2 separate regions of the Homo sapiens genome follow, and region 1 is linked to region 2. Evidence: promoter capture Hi-C in 16 types of primary human blood cells and fetal thymus (Javierre and others, 2016). All regions are on one chromosome and are shown on one strand. Each heading gives the region's core, a stretch centred on a gene start or on the middle of the fragment in contact. The rest is flanking DNA. Distances are from core to core; before and after follow the strand shown.

What was found. The method cuts DNA at HindIII sites, captures the fragments that hold promoters and counts their contacts. A CHiCAGO score of 5 or more calls a contact.
Region 1: a contact is called between a fragment that was not itself captured here and the fragment with the promoter of C2orf81 in region 2, in 1 of 17 cell types (total B cells). The highest score is 5.2, in total B cells.

Annotation. Positions count from the first base shown.
Region 1 is chr2:73,931,616-73,934,712 of GRCh38, reverse strand. All of the region lies in intron 1 of DGUOK (deoxyguanosine kinase), which reads right to left. Among named protein-coding and RNA genes, the nearest start is that of DGUOK, 6.3 kb to the right of the region's middle. The HindIII fragment of the contact is 872 bases long and covers 993-1,864 here.
Region 2 is chr2:74,419,817-74,423,026 of GRCh38, reverse strand. It overlaps C2orf81 (chromosome 2 open reading frame 81), which reads left to right and starts at 1,408. Exons shown (of 3, transcript NM_001316764.3): 1 at 1,408-1,484. The coding sequence starts at 1,467. WDR54 (WD repeat domain 54) reads right to left here and starts at 1,297. Exons shown (of 10, transcript NM_032118.4): 1 at 1,211-1,297; 2 at 652-874; 3 at 95-157. The coding sequence starts at 873. RefSeq lists an enhancer at 618-797 and a silencer at 1,198-1,477. The HindIII fragment of the contact is 12,224 bases long and covers 1-2,411 here.

The sequences.
Region 1 (3,097 bases), core at 179-2,678, 490 kb after region 2:
GGTGATCTCGGCTCACTGCAACTTCCAACTCCCGGGTTCAACTGATTCTCCAGCCTCTCAGCCTCCCGAGTAACTGGGACTATAAGCACGTGCCACCACACCTGACTAATTTTTGTATTTTTAGTAGAGACAGGGTTTCGCCATGTTGGCCAGGCTGGTCTTGAACTCCTGACCTCAGGTGATCTGCCCGCCTCAGCCTCCCAAAGTGCTGGGATGACAGGGGTTAGCCACATCGCCCGGCCTGTCTTTCAATATACTCTCAGTATTATGAATTTTGGAAGGTATCAGAACTTACAAGCAGCATCAAACCTTCCCTTAGGACCCTGGCCACCAGTGTTCTCTGTTGTTATATTGCCACAACCTTAAAAAAAGGTGGAAGGTACTTTCTTAAGAGTATATTACTTCAACATGTTGATTTTCATTAGCTCCACTATTCTCATTCCACAAGCTGGGACAAAGAGTTCTGTTGTTACCACTCATCTTTTTCTAAGGCATGTTTTTTTCTCCCCACAAAATTTTCTATAAACTGACAATGCCTACCATAGCTATGTAATGCTAAAATCTAGCAGCAAGATAGCATATGATGTAATACCCAAAATAACAGATCCCATTATTTTACGTCTAATACAGCTGTATTTCATAGGAGCCTATATTTATCACCTCTAGGCATTTTCATCTCCTGAACAAGATGAAAAACATGAGAAAAAAAATCCAATTCTGAAATCTTTTACCAAAATCCAACAAAGTCAGAACATATAAAACTGTCTAATGTCTTTTTTAAAAAGTCCTTCCAAAAAAAATTGAAGTCTTTATTTCAGATACTGTATTTGATGCTGCATTCATTCACTCACTCATTCAATCAACAAATGTTTATGGAGTAGCTACTCAGAGGTAAGTACTATAACTGAAATGATGATCTAGGCTGAGAGCTTGCCCTCAAGTTATATTCCAACCCCAAGACTGAGTACCCAGGATCATACAGGCTCCAAGCTTAAAGGCATTCTAGGCAAAGTTAATAAAAATCAGTCAGCAGGCTTAAAAAAAACTTAATACATTTTACTTTGATGACCTTTTTTCATGAAAAACTGTTTACGAAAAAAAAAAGGCAAAAAATTTTCTCACACCTTCCTATGATCCAAACTCATCTGCTCAGCACAAAAGACCCTCACTGATCTGACATCCCCTCCTCCCGCCTTGCCTACCAGGTGATTCAGCTTTCCACTGCCACCTTCTCTGTGAAGCCTCCTTGAACTCTCTCCAGCGCCACTTCATCTCTAGGCAGAGTTAATTACTGCCTGCTCTGGTTTACCAAAGGATTACGCTGTAATTATTTGTTCACTCATCACTCCCTCCAGCTAGACTGGGAGCTCACTTTTGAAGACAGAGACTGAACCTTTGCATCCTGAGTATGAGAACAGTGATGGAGGGAAGGAGGTGAGTCACAGGCACAGAGAATCCACTATACAGTATTTGAAATAAATAGGCTATTTTTTCCCAAGGATTCTTTGCCCAATCATTTATACTTAAAATAAGTAAGACACATATTAGTGATGTGAAGTCACTAATTTTGAATGCTGGAGGAAACATGTTATTAGGGAAGCCCTCTACTGCTTTATGTTTAAGTTTCTTGATTGAAAAGTGCAAAAGAGTTTCCTCTTTTCTGGTTGGGTCTTTGAAAATAAGGTAAAAATGCTGAGATGACTCACTGACAGTGAGATTTCATACAGCAATCTTTTCTTCAATTTACGCTTGTAATCGTAAGATAATCACAAGAAGATGATAATACACTGTAGGGATGAACAGTCTTAAAAGACAGGCTAGGTGTTTTATTTTTTAGATTTTCAGGGGTTCTAGGTACCAAGCTTTTGACTTTCAATCACACATCTTATATGGCTTCGTAAGTCATGCTAGATGCCATTAGTTGCTACTTCACTGATCAATTTTCCTTACATGCCGCTGTCTGCACCTTCAGGATCAGAATAATAGGACTTAGAGCAGAAGGAATACAAGAAAAGCCCTCTAAACATACCCAATTTTGGTCAGGACAGGGGTTCACCTTCCCTGTTCAGGTTTCCTGAATGGGTGCTCTCATTCTGATTTGCTTGAGGATGTTACCTGTGATTAGAGAAGATGATCACTCTTGATTTAAAAAGCAGTTTAATACATTCCCTGTGTGGGTACCAATGCCTAACTTCCACATGGATATCATAGCACAGGATTCAAGAATCTGGTCAGTACTGAGTACACTGGGTCAAGGCGGGGGTTAGGTGTCAGCAATACAAAGATGAACAGCACACTGAGTGGTCAGAGCCCAAGGAAGGTGGTGAATGTGCAAACAAGCTCAGCAGAACTCAAGTGCTGCAGCAGTTGTGGGTACAAAATGTTATGTCAGCCCACAGAGGAGGCAGTGACTAATTCTGTCTAGGGAGAGTCATCAGGGTGTGTGGGGTGATGAAGAGTAGTGGGAGATGAAAGTAAAAAGAGTCAGATTAGGTCCTCCCATTCCACTTCGCATCACCCTTTTCTTGGGCAATTGCATTTACTTCCAAGGCTTCACCAACTACCCCTCTACCCACCAGTCAACAACTTCCACATCTGAAATCTCAGCACCCATCTCCGGACTCTCTTGACCTCAGGCACATATTCCAATCTGTCTCAGAACACCTCTATGTCTCACAGGCACCTCATACAAAACATATCACTCTAACCTCCCCAGACCGCCTCTTCCTTTATTCCCATCCTCATGAACCTCAGTGTCACCCTCCTCTACTCCTCCTCCTACCTCACCTCCAAGTGGCCACCACATCCTGTCAATCCCGCTTCCAAAATCTCTCTGAAACCGTCACTTCTCTGTCATTTCAGTTCTTCTATTCAGGCCTGCATCTTTCCTCCCTCCAATTACTCCAATAGCCACAAAACTAGTGCACAGACTCAACTCTGTTCCAATTCATCTATTCATTCATCCAACAAACTGGATGCAAGGCACTATGGGTACTGCAGCAAACAAAATATACAAAGAAAGTGCCTGTTTTATGGAGCTTTCTTTCTCATCCTACACAATTTCCTTTTTTAAATTAATCTGGTCATGGCACACACT
Region 2 (3,210 bases), core at 159-2,658:
CTGGAAGTGTTTAGAGGCAAGTGGGAAAGTCTGGAAGCCTGGCAGGGAAGCTGAGAAGGCTCTGGTGGGGCAAGCAGGAGAGTCCTCTTCTTACCTGTATTCCTCGATGTGAGGTGAGTACCAGCAGCACTCGGAAGGGGAGGACACACCAGTGGACCTGGAGGGAGGTGCATCAGTGTAGGGAGAAAATCAAAGCAGGGAAGATGAGTTTGTTTGTTTTTTTTTTTTTTTTGGGGGACGGAGTCTTGCTCTGTGGCCCAGGCTGGAGTGCAGTGGCGCCATCTCGGCTCACTGCAACCTCAGCCTCCTGGGTTCAAGCGATTCTCCTGCCTCAGCCACCCAAGTAGCTGGGATTACAGGTGCACGCCACCACACCCGGTTAATTTTTTTTGTATTCTTAGTAGAGAAGAGGTTTCACCATGTTGGCCAGGCTGGTCTCGAACTCCTGGCCTCAAGTGCCCGTCTCAGCCTCCCAAAGTGTTGGGATTACAGGCGTGAGCCACCGCGCCCGGCAGGAGAGGGGAGATTCTGAGGTTAGGACATGCCTGGGGAGATTCTGAGGTTAGGACATGCCTGCTCCTGAAGGTTTGGAGAGAAAAGGCTGGGGGTAGGACTGGGTTCAGCAACATCACTCCCAGCTCCATGCCTCACCTGAGTGATAAGTGGGGGACTCACTCCAGCACCCTCCTTAGCGTGGAGCTGGCGCTGGGCCAAGGGCACACCCTCAGGAGCAGCGCTGAGAAGCTGGGCGCTTGGTCCATGAACCACGCCAAAATACGTGAGGTTGCGAGCCGGCAGCTGCAGCACACTGAGGTTGTTGCACAGGGCGGCGGCCGAGCCTCGCAGGGGAATGGAGCGCTCCCAGCGGAACATCCTGTGTGGGGGTGCAGCCGAATCACCAGGCGCGCTACAAACAGACGCAGCGGAGATGCCCGAGGGCGGCTATCATCGAGCATTTCGGAAGATGCCTGAGACTGGGTCATAGGATGGGGTGCCCAGAGGACGGTGATGGGGGAGGGTCTCGAGGAGCAAGACAGGGGAGTCCCAGGGCTGTTTTGGGGCGACGGGGGAATCGCAGAGGAGGAATGGGGATGACACAGGACCACCCGATGGCCCCAAGCCCGCGAGCCAAATAAGTGTGATGAAGCCCCCAAGGCTTTCTCCCTCGGCTCGGATCCCTGAAGCCCCCGGCCTAGATCAGAGGTAACACCTGCAGCCCCAGATCGGCTCGCCTGACTCCTGGTTCGTAGGGTCCCTCCAAATCCGCCGCCACCATAGAGACGACGCACGTACGCACGGCCCTTGGGCGGGGTGAGCGGCCGGAACGTGCCGCGGGCGGCGCGGTTGCCGGGGCAACTGTGGGCGGGGCGAGCGACCCCGAGCCCGTGGTTGCCCAGGCGACTGTTAGGTGGCTTACGCGGCCCGGATGCAGCAGAAACACCAGCGTTGCTGCGACCGCGTTGGCGATGGCGCACGAAGGCTCGGTGAGCTTCAGTTCAGCTGGGGATGCGCCAGAGCCAGGGTCGGCCGTTAAGGTCGGTGTCGGGAACAGTGGGCTGGCTCTGGGCCGCCCAGTGCCCCTACTTGCTCCCGCCCACCGCGCGGGAGTTTAGATGACCAAGGAAGCCACGTCGGTACTCGGGCAGAAAACCTACACCTGCACGGTGCCCACTCAAACGCTTTGTTACACTCAAGCCATGAGGGAAAGGGTCAGTGGGTGGTGTAGAGCCCGAGAACAGGAAGTGGATTTTGAAACAGCTAATGAATGTAGTAAGTCTCTTACATGGTGGTGCGTATTTAAATGGATGAGCATTTAGAGAGGGAAGATAACAGAAAAAATCTATTTCGAGAATTTCAAGAGGAAGAAATATATTAAATAATTCAGAGACTGCACTTGAAAGTCAAATTGTTTAAGAGCCAATCAATTTTAAAATAAAGAAAACGGGGCCGGTCTCAATGGCTCATGCCTGTAATCCCAGCACTTTGAGAGGCTGAGGCGGGAGGATTGCCTGAGCTCAGGAGTTCAAGACCAGCCAGGCCAACATGGCGAGACCCCGTCTCGACTAAAATACAAAAAATTAGCTGGATGTGGTGGCGCGGTGCCTGTAATCCCAGCTACTCGGGAGGCAGAGGCAGGAGAATTGCTTGAACTCGGGAGGCGGAGGTTGCAGTGAGCCGAGATCGCGCCACTGCGCTCTAGCCTGGGTGACAGAGAGAGACTGTCTCAAAAAAAAAAAAAAAAAAAAAAAAAAAAGAAGAAGAAGAAAGAAAACGGATTTGAAGAGCCTTTGTGCAAAAATATCTCTGTCCCTTCTGGTCACCATCACGGGTGTCAGATGCGAGGCTGGGAGGGGAGGTCTAAGGAAACAACTCTCTTTACTCAGTCCAGTCAGCCCTGCTCTAGTCAAGCTTGGCCTGGGCTATGGGCCACTCCTGGTGCTTGCTACAGGGCTGTTCTCACTGGTGGATAGGGTTAATGAGACTTCAGGGATTTTGAGTTCTGCAAGACTTAGGAAACAGCAGATTTGGGGGGATAATGAATTTTAGGAAACAGATATGAGACAAGGTTTTAGCGGGGCAATAGGCAAAGGTTTGGGAAGATCACATTTGGAAGTACATTTTGGAAGGAACCAGGTTCAGGGAGACTGTTGTGGGGAATTGAGGGAGCTCCCAAGAGATTGTTTGTAAACTTTTTATGTCTCTAAAGTGAGTTTTGGGGACTAGTCTTTTTTTTTTTTTAAGTGATTACAAAAGGAAACAAACTCATTGTAGAGAACTTACAAAATAGAAAAGAGCATAGGAAGGAAACGTATCCTCTGTTATCATTTTGAAGTTTTCCTTTTGTTGAACACATAGTGGTTTACATATATGAGATCATAATTGATGTGTAAGTTTGTATCCTGCTTCTTTCAATTAACGTTACATCATAAACATTTGCTTTATGCCATTGCAAATTCTTTCTAAAGATTACCTTTAATGGCTGGGTTGGTGGCTCATGCCTGCAAGGTGGGCAGATCACTTGAGGCCAGTTCAAGACCAGTCTGGCCAACATGGCGAAACCCCATCTCTACTAAAAATAGAAAAAAAATTAGCCAGGCCTGGTGGCAGGCGCCTGTAATCCCAGCTACTCCGGAGGCTGAGGCAGGAGAATTGCTTGAACCTGGGAGGCAGAGGTTGCAGTGAGCCGAGATCTTGCCACTGCACTCCAGC